Regions from separate parts of the Homo sapiens genome. Here region 1 is linked to region 2. Evidence: promoter capture Hi-C in human tissues and cell types (Jung and others, 2019). All regions are on one chromosome and are shown on one strand. The core of a region is centred on a gene start or on the middle of the fragment in contact, and the rest is flanking DNA. Distances in the headings are between cores, read along the strand shown.

The links. Contacts are between HindIII fragments. The study calls those that stand out against the background at their distance.
Region 1: a contact is called between a fragment that was not itself captured here and the fragment with the promoter of CCDC136 in region 2, in 2 of the 25 tissues and cell types used here (bladder and spleen).

What each region holds. Positions count from the first base shown.
Region 1 is chr7:128,607,239-128,613,035 of GRCh38, forward strand. No RefSeq gene overlaps it. Among named protein-coding and RNA genes, the nearest start is that of LINC01000, 31 kb to the right of the region's middle. The HindIII fragment of the contact is 7,339 bases long and covers 1-4,920 here.
Region 2 is chr7:128,788,714-128,794,771 of GRCh38, forward strand. It overlaps CCDC136 (coiled-coil domain containing 136), which reads left to right and starts at 3,255. Exons shown (of 18, transcript NM_022742.5): 1 at 3,255-3,714; 2 at 5,635-5,889; 3 at 5,981-6,055. The coding sequence starts at 3,699. RefSeq lists silencers at 2,362-2,831, 2,370-2,638. The HindIII fragment of the contact is 16,505 bases long and covers 1-6,058 here.

The DNA of each region.
Region 1 (5,797 bases), core at 1-2,500, 180 kb before region 2:
GGCTCACGCCTGTAATCCCAGCACTTTGGGAGGCCGAGGCGGGCGGATCATGAGGTCAGGAGATCAAGACCATCCTGGCTAACACAGTGAAACCCCGTCTCCACTAAACATACAAAAAATTAGCCAGGCATGGTGGCGGGTGCCTGTAATCCCAGCTACTTGGGAGGCTGAGGCAGGAGAATGGCATAAACCCGGGAGGCAGAGCTTGCAGTGAGCCCAGATCGCGCCACTGCACTCCAGCCTGGGTGACAGAGCGAGACTCTGTCTCAAAAAAAAAAAAAAAGTACTATTGAGAATATAATATAATTAACCTGAATAGGTTAATAACCTGAATAGGTTAATTATATTATGGAACCTAAACCATATAAATTTAAAATGCCTTAGAATGCCCAGTCAGCAAGTGACAGTATTAGAAATCAACCTGGATTTTAGACCGCTGTGTGTTCATGGATAATGTTTGTGTGTTTAGGAGACTATTCTGAATAGTGTTTCACAGTCCTTTACGTGCATCCCCTTGTGCATTGGATGCTTCACTAGCCTTTTCTGACTAAAGCATATGAAAATACAAGTGAAAAAGGCAAGTTATTACAGGAATAACTTTTCATTTTCTCTAATTTTCATATTTTAAAAATTCATTTGTAAGCATTTGATACTTTAAACCTGTTTACAGGAACTTGGTATAAACCACCATGTCTAGCCCTTTGTCTCATATTTGAATTGTTTTACTTTCTTCTTGGCCACGTGGCCCTGACTTCTCACTTTCATAAGAAGGGGTTTGTATTGTGGAGATACAAATTATGGAGTTGTTTGCATTAATACAAGTGTTTGTGGAAAAAGATGCCAAACTTTCCTGTGATTGGTAATGCACCTTTATTGTAGGCTCAGCAAAACAGTCCCTCATCTACGGGATCTGGCAACACAGAGCATTCCTGCAGCTCCCAAAAACAGATCTCCATCCAGCACAGACAGACCCAGGTAGGTTGGTGATCGATAATCAATTGAGGGGGATACCTGCTGTGTAGGAATAAGGGCTAACCTGTGTAGTCTGTCATTCTTCTCTGACTTCTCTGACCACCTCATTATTTGTGTGTATTATATTCAGAACTTGCATTATGGGTATTTAAAGTCCTTTGGAAGGTGCTTTAACTTTTTGAGGCTTTTCTTTACTCTTCTGGTGTATTGTAGCAGAAATGCTTATGCTAAAGCATGGTGTTAAGGAAAGTGCACACTTTTTTTTTTTTTTCCTACAGTATTCCACAGAAGAAAAGTACCTACACTTTGAAGGCCTCTAAGTTCAGATTCTGGCACTGTGGCCTAAGTTCAGATTCTGGCCTGGGCCTCAGTTTTTCTTAGTACAAATCATCTGTGAAAATGTGGTTGATTCTCATGATCTCAGACAGTGTATACGAAATGTTTATTAGTAGTGTACTTGTAGTAGGCTTTCAATAAATGTTAATTCCCTAATTTATGAAAGTAGTTAATGTATTCCTTTTCCTGCTTACTTATTTATACCTGGCTAAACTTCTCTCAGATGTGAGATACCAACATGGTTTACTCCTTAAATTGTGTTCAGAAACTCTTTAATTTAGGGAGTGTTCTGAACATTTGAGGATTGTATCTGCAAAGGATGGTGGCTATAGCTTCCATTTTGTAGTTTTGAGTATACTGGGTTTTCTTGAAGCCTCTTTTGATACTGTATATATTATCTTCAAGACAGGATCGTTGGCAATCTAGGAGAATTTCTTAAATCTCAAGAGGTATACAACTCCCTGGAGCACATTTGAATTTTATCTAAATCACCAGCTCTTGTACAGTTCAGTTAGATAGTTGAGCACTCAGGTAGCTTCTTCTCTTCCCTTCTGATTGCTCTCTGTTTCCACCAGATGGCGCATTTGTTCCTTAGAGAGTTGTGTCAAGTCTCCTGTGAGATCGTTTTCTATTCAAAGTTAGTTTCATTTCTGGAGTAACGTGTTTCTACATTGTTCAGTGCACAGTAGTGAGAATTCATACATTTGATTCCAGAATTAACATGTATTTGAAGTGTAGGTGTAGTGGGACGTAAGGAACCCAGCAGAGGACTTGAACAATGAGATGAGACAAGCAGATTTCATTTCTTAAGCCATGTGATTCTAGGCCATTTGTGTGAGCAAGTGCTTTTTTTTCCCCCCAAGAAAGGTAACGAGAAGAGTGTGATGACATATAACATGTTGAGACTAATCCTAAATTTGTTTTACCTTTGTCTCTGTAGTCCAACCTCACAATAGAAAAAATATCTGCACTAGAAAACAGTAAGAATTCTGACCTAGAGAAGAGGGAGGGAAGAATAGATGATTTATTAAGAGTAAGTATTAAAATTTGGTAAGATATTTTATAGCAAGCACCATTTGTTATATATATTTGGATTATGTACATATCATAGAAGTAATTACTATAGCCAAATAACAATGAAATAATAAACATTTGGGTATTTTTCTTTAATTGAGGGAATCTGAGTAGGAACCAGGTTCCTGCATTCTAAACACTACCTTTAAATTGGAAATCTTATACTGTAGTATTTTAATGATTGAATTTATATTGGAGAAATAGATATGTGGAGTGTTATATTTCATCTAGAACTGTGGGAATAAGTATAAAGTGTTGTTTTCCCATTCCAGAGAAATTATTTTAATATTGTTGAATTTTATAAGCTATTTCAAAGGACTTTTTAGCCCATTTTGCTTTTTGTACCTTTTATAACCTACTCACCCAAACTTTTTTGTGCTTACAAAAGAAACCTTTAAAATGCTTCATCTGGAATTAAATAGATATCACTAGAAAATACTTTATCAATATATTTTGAACATGCAATTTGGCATGACTGACTCATAGTTTTTAAAGAGTAAAAAGGGCCGGACATGGTGGTTCACACCTGTAATCCCAGCACTTTGGGAGGCCAACGCAGGTGGATCACTTGAGGTCAGGAGTTTGAGACCACCCTGGCCAACATGTTGAAAAGAAACCCTGTCTCTACTAAAAAAATATAAAACATTATCCTGGTGTGGTGGCAAGCGGCTGTAGTCCCAGCTACTTGGGAGGCTGAGACAGGGGAATTGCTTGAGCCTGGGAGGCGGAGGTTGCAGTGAGCCGAGATTGCGCCACTGCATTCCAGCCTGGGCGACAGAGTGATACTTCGTGTCAAGAAAAAAATAAGAAAGTAAAAAGGACCGGGCATGGTGGCCCATACCTGCCACTTTGGGAGGCTGAGGCAGGAGGATTGCTTGAGATCAGGAGTTTGAGACCAGCATGCATGACACAGCAAGACCCCATTTCTATAAAAGAATACAAAATTTGCCAGGCATGGTGGTGTGTCTGTGGTCCCAGCTACTGGGAGCCTGAGGTGGGAAGATGCTTGAGCCCAGGACCTCTAGGCTACAGTGAGCCAAGTTCACGCTGCTGCGCTCCAGCCTGGACAACAGAGCAAGACCCTGTCTCAAAAAAAAAAAACCATTATACATGCTCTTTACAAAATACAGAAAAATATGTCACTCATAATTCCATTAATTGGGATTAAACATTTGGTACATTTTTTTTTTCAGTAATTTTGAGCTGTTTGAAGTAGATATGTGTGTGTATATATATATATACACACACACACACAAATGAATATATACATAAATGTTACTGATTTACGAATAACATTGGCTAGCATTTTTCTCTTCTCTAGTGATTTAGAAGGTATAGGTTTGATCCTTATTTCTGCTAATGTGGTAGTTAATCTGACTCTTCAGGGTCCTGAAACCTCCAGGGCTACTGTGACACAGCAAGATGGGGATCGGCAACCTTGCCTTTGTCAGTCTTTCTTATTAGGCTTTGGGTACAATTTTGTTTGAATATATGTTTAATAATACAGATTATAAAAGTCACTGTACTCATGATGATCTGACCTCCAAAATTTTTTTACTTGTATTATATTTCTGTACTTAATAAAAACATAAGGTAAAATAGTGTATTTTGACTCCTTTTTATATAAAACCTGGAATTCAGCACATAGCTAAACTAAGTCTGGCCTTTATTAGTAAAGTCTGGTGTGTTTATATTATTATTAATTTTTTTTTTTTTGAGACAGAGTCTTGCTCTGTTGCCCAGACTGAAGTGCAGTGGCGTGATCTCAGCTCACTGCAACCTCCGCCTCCCAGGGTCAAGCAATTCTCCTACCTCAGCCTCCTGAGTAGCTGGGATTACAGGTGCCCGCCACCATGCCCAGCTAATTTTTGCATTTTTAGTAGAGATGGTGTTTCACCATGTTGGTCAGGCTGGTCTCGAACCCCTGACCTTGTGATCCACCCACCTCGGCCTCCCAAAGTGCTGGGATTACAGGCGTGAGCCACCGCGTCCAGCTATTATTATTAATTTTATATATTTATTTTGAGACAGGATCTCACTCTGTCACCCAGGCTGGAGTGCGGTGGCGCAGTCTTGCAAGCTGTGCCCTCCCCAGTCCCCACCCGATGTGATCCTCCCACCTCGGCCTCCCAAGTAGCTGGGACTATAGGCATGTGCCACTACATTTGGCTGTTTATATTATTAATCAATTAATTTTTTGAGACAGAGTCTCACTTTGTCACCCAGGTTCAAGTGATTCTCCTGCCTCTGCCTCCCAAGTAGCTGGGATTACAGGCATGCACCACAATGCCTGGCTAATTTTTGTATTTTTAATAGAGATGGGTTTTTGCCACATTGGCCACGCTGGTCTCGAACTCCTGACCTGCAGTGATCAGCCTGCCTTGGTCTGCCAAAGTGCTGGGATTGCAGGCGTGAGTCACTGCGCTCGGCCTATATTATTATTATTAAATTACCATTTTTACTGCTATATATGACACTAAGTTCTTATGTATAGAGTATAGGCAGAGGCAGCTTTATGACCAAATTCATAGTCATTGTTAGACTGGTTTATTCAACTGATTTCAAGGCTTATCAACAGTATTTTTTTTTATTTATAGTTCTTGTTTTATCTGTTGATGGTGGTACATTTTTAAGTGATTATTTTTCAGCAAGGATTTGTCAGTGTTAAATTTTCTCTGCCTTGCAGACCTGAGAATTCTCTCTTTTGCCCTCCCATGGAAAGACAACACTGTGTGCAGGATTTTTGTGTCATAACCCCTTGTTCTGTTTGTTCTGCTTCTCAAATATAACACACATTCTCTCTCTCTGTTTCTCCTTCAGTTTTTCAAGCATTTTGTATTTCAGAGAGGTTCATGACCAAAGCAGCAAACACCATAATTTGTTAAATATTACCCCAGGGTGTATCTATATGTGGGTTTATATATTTTTATTTGGAAAATGTGTGATTATGTCTAACTATGCTTTTATCCCTGTTTATATTGGTTTCTTCTTGACTCTTAGCTTGAATCTCTGATTTCTCTCCTTTATTTCTAACATGTTATGTCTCATTTTAATATGATTGCCCCTTTCTTCTGAGTCTCATTAAACACTGTCTTCCATATATTTCTGGCATTTACTGCAGCTCATGTGAATTTTGATTTTATTGTTTACATTTTTATTTTTTGAGACAGTGTCTTGCTGTCGCCCAGGCTGGGTGCAGTGGCACCGTCATGGCTCACTGCAGCCTTCATCTCCCAGGCTCAAGTAGTCCTCTCACTTCAGCCTCCTGAATAGCTGGGACTACAGGCATGTGCCACTGTGCTTGGCTAATTTTTTTATTTTTTGTAGGAACAGGGTCTCACTATGTTGCCCAGGCTGGTCTTGAACTCTTGGGTTCAAGCAATCCTCCTACCTTGGCCTCCCAAAGTACTGGGAT
Region 2 (6,058 bases), core at 2,005-4,504:
CATTTCTGGACCACAGCCCACCTCCCTCATATCTCTTAAGCTCTTTTCTCCCGCCTTTTAACTGCCTCCCTCCGCCCTCAACCCAGTACTGGTCTGGCCAGGGTTTGACCAAGTTTGGCTCCTGAAAATAGACTGGTTCAGGTCTCTCTTAAATGTTCTCCCAAATCAAGGGTGAAAGGTGACCTGCATGCCAGGAGCCAGGGAGAGATTAGTCCTAATACTCAGGATCAGAGCTCCCTGAGGAGAGCTTGAACCCTGGATGTCACCATCGACAATTTCCCTGCTGTGCCTCCCTACATTCACCAAGAGGTCAGCAGTCAAGGCCAACCGCTAACGTGGCCCTGCTGGCGGAGGCAGAACCAGGAGGAGCTGCGCTGGGCAGAAAGAACAGCCAGTAAGCTTCCAGAACTAGTCTTTGCCAGTTCCCAGAGCACTGCATCCCTCAAGCCCCCAGTGCAGCCCCTTTCTACCACCCCTGACAAATGCTCTGCTCCCCAAATCTGGACAGGCTTGGCGTCTGCAGTAAACCCTCTGCAGAAGGGGTCTGGGTGGGCTTGTTCAACTTTCCCCACAACTGTGTCACCTTGGCCACAGGATCTGGAGTAGAATCTTGTCATCTGGGAGCAAAGAAAACATTCTTGATCTCTGCTCATCATCTCTCTGCTGAGATAATGAGAGAGGCAGAGGAAGAAAAAAGGAGCAAGGAGTTGGGGGAGGGAGAGAGACTTATGGGCAACATCATCATTAATAGGCAACATTTAACACCACAAATATGAAATCATGTTAAATGATAAGACAGGGCATTAACTGGGTAGCTGGGAGATTGACCTTTAACTCATTTATCCTGTGTCAGAAACTCTGTCAGATGCTGGAAATACAAAGATAACTAAGATCCCCCTAACCTTCAGGAAACTGGGCAGAGCCCGGACAACCCGGAGGGCCTGGTGCTGTTACAGACAAATAGGGGCGAGCACCACAAAAGCGCCTAGTGGGGCAGGGATGGGGTGCCAGTCAGAGAAGGCCACCTGGAGGTGACCCCCAGCTGAAAAGGAGGGGGAAGTCCAGGCAAAGAAGGGCTTCCTTCCCGTGGAACAGGGATGGCTTGTGGACGTGGGAGCCTGTGGGATGTCAGAGACATTTGAGCCAGAGCAACTCCATCTTGAATAGAAGCTGGGTAAAATGAGGCTGAGACCTACTGGGCTGCATTCCCAGACGTTTAAGGAATTCTAAGTCACAGGATGAGATAGGAGGTTGGCACAAGACACAGGTCATAAAGACCTTGCTGATAAAACACCTTGCAGTAAAGAAGCCGGCCAAAACCCACTAAAACCAAGATGGCAGTGAGAGTGACCTCTAGTAATCCTCACACTGTTACACTCCCACCAGTGCCATGACAGTTTACAAATGCCATGGCAACATCAGAAAGTTACCCTACATTGTCTGAAAGGGGGTGTCAGGAATAAACCACCCCTTGTTTAGCATATCATCAAGAAATAACCAAAAAAAGCAGCCCTTGGGGCTGCTCTGTCTATGGAGTAGCCATTCTTTATTCCTTTACTTTCCTAATAAACTTGCTTTTAGTTTATCCTATGGACCTCCCTGAATTCTTTCTTGCGTGAGATTCAAGAACCCTCTGTTGCGGTCTGGATCCGGATCCCTTTCCTGCAGCGGGGGGAACGCAGACAATACTAGCCCTCGACCTGTGAGTGGATGTGCCAGAGAGGGGATCCGCGTGTGTCCCTGGCTTAGGAATCTTCCAGCCATTTCCTGGATGTGCTGGGGAGCCCCTGTTCCCAACTGTGCCCACTTCTATCCTTGCCGAGACCTGCCGAGATGTGAGAACTGCCTCTTCAAGAGCCGGCACCCAGTAGTCATAGCCTGAATAAACGAATGGTTGAAGACGTGAAATAAGCCCCCTGGGCTTCCAAATCTCCCTTCCACGAGAGTGAACATCAGTCGTGCCCACTCTGAGCGGGCTACTGTGGGGGCGTGGCTCGCAGCCCACCGGGTGTGGGACCGGAAGGGAAGACAGGGCGGAGGAGAGGGGGTCTTCCGGCCCTGAGGCTTGATGGGGCCACCGGAGGGCTCCTCCTAAGAGGGTCCTTGGCCCTGGCTCGGTGGGGGGTCGCGGAAAGCGGAGAGGTCAGGGCCCTGCCGTTCGCCCATCCGGGCCTCGACTTCCCTCCTCCGGCCCCCAGGCTGCCGAGGGGCCACCGGGCAGGGGTGGGCAGGGCCTGGGGCCGGAGTCAGCGCGGACTGCTAGGTGGGGGCGCCGGCCGGGCGGGGGAGGGAGGGAAGGAGGGGCGCGCGTGTCTGCGCTTTTGGAGGAAACAGTCCCACCTCGTCCTTTGCCGTCCCCATTGCTGAGCATGACCGGGCCCTGACACCTGGTGCAGAAGGGTCCCTGGGCACAGCAGACCCCGGGGGGACCCGCCGCCAGAACCAGGGGATCTCGCTCCTCCCTCTTGGGGCAGCCATAAGCCTAGGAGCTCCTGACGCTGTCCGGGCCCCGCGGCTCCCCGCGCTCTCTAGGGGAGAGCCTTGGGGCGTATCCGGGGTCGCGCTCACCCTCCCGCGCCGCCCCCTGCACGGGCTCGGAGCTCCCGAGTGCTGGGAGGGCTTCCGGGCGGCGGCGAGCGGCGGGGGGCGGTGTCAGGAGGCCCGGCCAGGCCCCGCCCCCTCGTCCGCCCTCCCTCCCTCCCTGCGCACCCGGCTCGGGTCCCCGGGCTCGCGGCTGCGGCTTCTGCTCAGGGAGGCGGAAGGCGGCGGCGGGAGCGGTCATGGAGGCGGGCGCCGGAGCCGGCGCGGGAGCCGCGGGCTGGAGCTGCCCGGGCCCAGGTCAGAGCCGCCCCTCCGTCACCTGTCTACCGCCCCTCCTTTCTCTCCTCCATCCCTCCTCCTTCCAGACCCCCAGGTGCTCCCGGCCTCCGCGGCTCCCCTTTCTCCGCCCAAAGTCTTCCTCCCTCCATCCTGGCCTCCACCGGGGCCCGGTCTCCATCCTTCCGGCCTGGGACTGAGGCTTCCGCGCACCGGCCGCATCCTGCCTGGTGGTCCCTCCCCAGCGCGTCTCTCCACTTCAGTCCGACGGTGCTTCCAGCCTTCGGGACTGCAGACCCTACACCTCCTGCAGCCCCGGAGACTCCTGAGCGCGGGGCGAGGGTGGGGTGGGCAAGGTCCAGCGAGAGAATGGGAGGAGAGGGGAGGGGAGCGGTCGCAGCCCTACCCCTTCCCGCACGCCCCCCACTCCTCCCTCCCTCCATCTGTAGGCCACCTCAGCCTTTCAGCCTCTTCTTCACTGGCTCCCGCCCTCTTTCAGTCTTGGCCCTCTCCTCCCTGTCCCCCCGGACTAAATACGCACACCCCCTCTTTCTTTCTGTGCAAGCAAGAGGGTCCTGGAACAGCGGGTTCTGAGGAGGCTGGGAGGCAGGGCTGAGAGGTGGCCGAGAGAGAGGAGTCGCAGAGCCGCCAGAGTGAGTCAGGCACCTCCACTGGGATTACAGATCCCAGAGCCTCGAGGAGCTGGAAGACATGTCCCCTTCTTTCCTCTGCACCCCAGCCCGCAGCCAGCCCCCCACCCCCCAGCCCCTCCTTTCTCCCTGCTCTCAGGACCCACAGTGACCACTCTAGGCTCCTATGAGGCTTCCGAGGGCTGTGAGAGGAAGAAGGGCCAACGCTGGGGGTCCCTGGAACGACGGGGGATGCAAGCTATGGAGGGTGAGTTTTCCCAAAAGGCTTCTTTCTTTCCCCTCCCCTCCTCCCTTAATTCCCTTCTTTCCTCCCTCTGACCCCCAGGCCTCTGAGCCAGGACACAGCCCTTCCCTCAGTTCATCTTAGCCCCTCTTCCTGCAGCTCAGAGCTCCAGCCCTTCCCAGGGCTCAGGCTTTGACAGAAGTTCAGGATGCATCCCTTCGGGACCCCAATCACCCCCCAGCTAACCAGGTTATGTGTCCCGAGGGAGCTGCCAGACAGAGAAAGAGGCCTTGTTGGACAGAGCTTTGAAGCAGCCTTTCAGCAGGGGGTTTGTCCTCACTGCCTGCCGACCCAGATCCCAAGCTGTCTCTTATTTTAAAAAGCAAGGAACTGGGCATGTGAATTGTCTTTCTGGGGCCACCAACATTAACTTCGAATGGAAGCCTGTGGCTTTGGTTCTTTAGGATACCTTATTGCCTGAAAGAGAGAGCCTAGGAGGGGGCGCGTGAGGCCATCCTCCCAACACACGTGTATCCCCACCACACCCATGTGACTTGGCAGTTGCTGCCAACACCAGGCCCCTGGAAGGACGCTGGTCCATTTGCCAGTACTTCCTGTGAAGTGTTGCACGTTGCACATTCAGTATGGGCAAACCTGCTCCCCCTAAGGGGGACAGATGGCACGAAGGGTCCCAGTTGAACCTAAGGCTGCTGATATTAGATAAAGTAAGACCAGAGATTCAGAATTTTAAAACAAAGCAAACAATCACCATCCAGACAACATTTTGCTATTTATAGGGACTGCGTTGCAGTAAAGGAGCGGGTGCTCACAACCAGAGGCTGGGGGCCAGCACCAAACCCCAGTTTTTTTAATGCATTAAAATGGTAGGCTTTCTTTTACACACAAGTACAGCCTAAAACTTCCCCTGAAATCTACTTTGTGGTCAGCAGAGTAGGAGGGGCCTCATATGGCTCAGCTAGGGGAGAGGAGACCTTGTGACATGCAGCAGGGAAAAACAAGGTGGACCTTGTAGAAAATTTCAAACAGGTATTTAATAATATACATTTGAAAGGGCGCCCGAGTTTGTCCAATGAAACCTCTACAATCAGATATTTTCTTTCTCTACCTGCTGACGGGCAATGTTTTCTTATTATGGAAAGGCTGATTTTTCACAAGCCACCTGGATAGTTTTTGTTTGGTTGTTTTTGTTTGTTTGTTTGTTTGAGACGGAGACTCACTCTGTTGCCCAGGCTGGAGTGCCAGTGGCTCGATCTCGCCTCACTGCAACCTCCAGTTCCCAGGTTCAAGCGATTCTCCTGCCTTAGCCTCCCAAGTAGCTGGGATTACAGGCGTGTACTACCACGCCCAGCTAATTTTTTTGTATTTTTAGTAGAGAAGGGGTTTCACCATGTTGACCGGGCTGGTTTGGAACTCCTGGCCTCAAGTAATCCACCCACCTCAGCCTCCCAAAGTGCTAGGATTACAGGCATGAGCCAGCATGCCTGGTCAGTTTTGTTTTGTTTTTTAACTTTCAAGAAATCTCCAAACTGTAACTGTTACCCCATTTGACCGAAAGATCCGCTCACTGTCTCCTTTCTTGACTACTTGTCCTGCTACTCAGAGGCCAGCCTAGAAGAAGCAGGTAATCCTGTGCAAGTGTCTCATGGCTGAGCGGGCACCAGCCTGCCCACAGGCAGTGATAGGAGGCTACCAAGTGCAACATTGGTCCAGGAAGGGCCTGGGAGGTGGAGGGGCTGCTTCTCAACTTGACTCTCACACCTGAGGACTCATCTTGAGTACAGGTCTTGCCCCGGGGCTCCTTGGGGGACACCAGGTGGCACTAGTATGTCATCTCTGCCCTGGCATAGTGAGTTTGAGGGCCCTGGAAGGACGGCAGAAAGGAAGTTGATGCTGACTCCTTGGTGGGATGGCTGTGTCTCCTAGGGGAGGTGTTACTCCCAGCTCTCTATGAGGAGGAAGAGGAAGAGGAAGAGGAGGAAGAAGAGGTGGAAGAAGAAGAAGAACAAGTGCAGAAAGGTGGCAGTGTTGGCTCTCTGTCAGTCAACAAGCACCGGGGACTGAGCCTCACGGAGACAGAGCTGGAGGAGCTGCGGGCTCAGGTGCTGCAGCTGGTGGCAGAACTGGAGGAGACCCGGGAACTGGCAGGGCAGCATGAGGATGACTCCTTGGAGCTACAGGGTGAGTGCCTGGGCCAGGGCCCAGTGCCCGGGCCCAGAGGCTCTGCACTCCCCTGGATCCGAGCTTGACACTGGTGCCCCTCTCCCTGCAGGGCTCCTGGAGGATGAACGGCTAGCCAGCGCCCAGCAGGCAGAGGTGTTCACCAAGCAGATCCAGCAGCTCCAAGGTA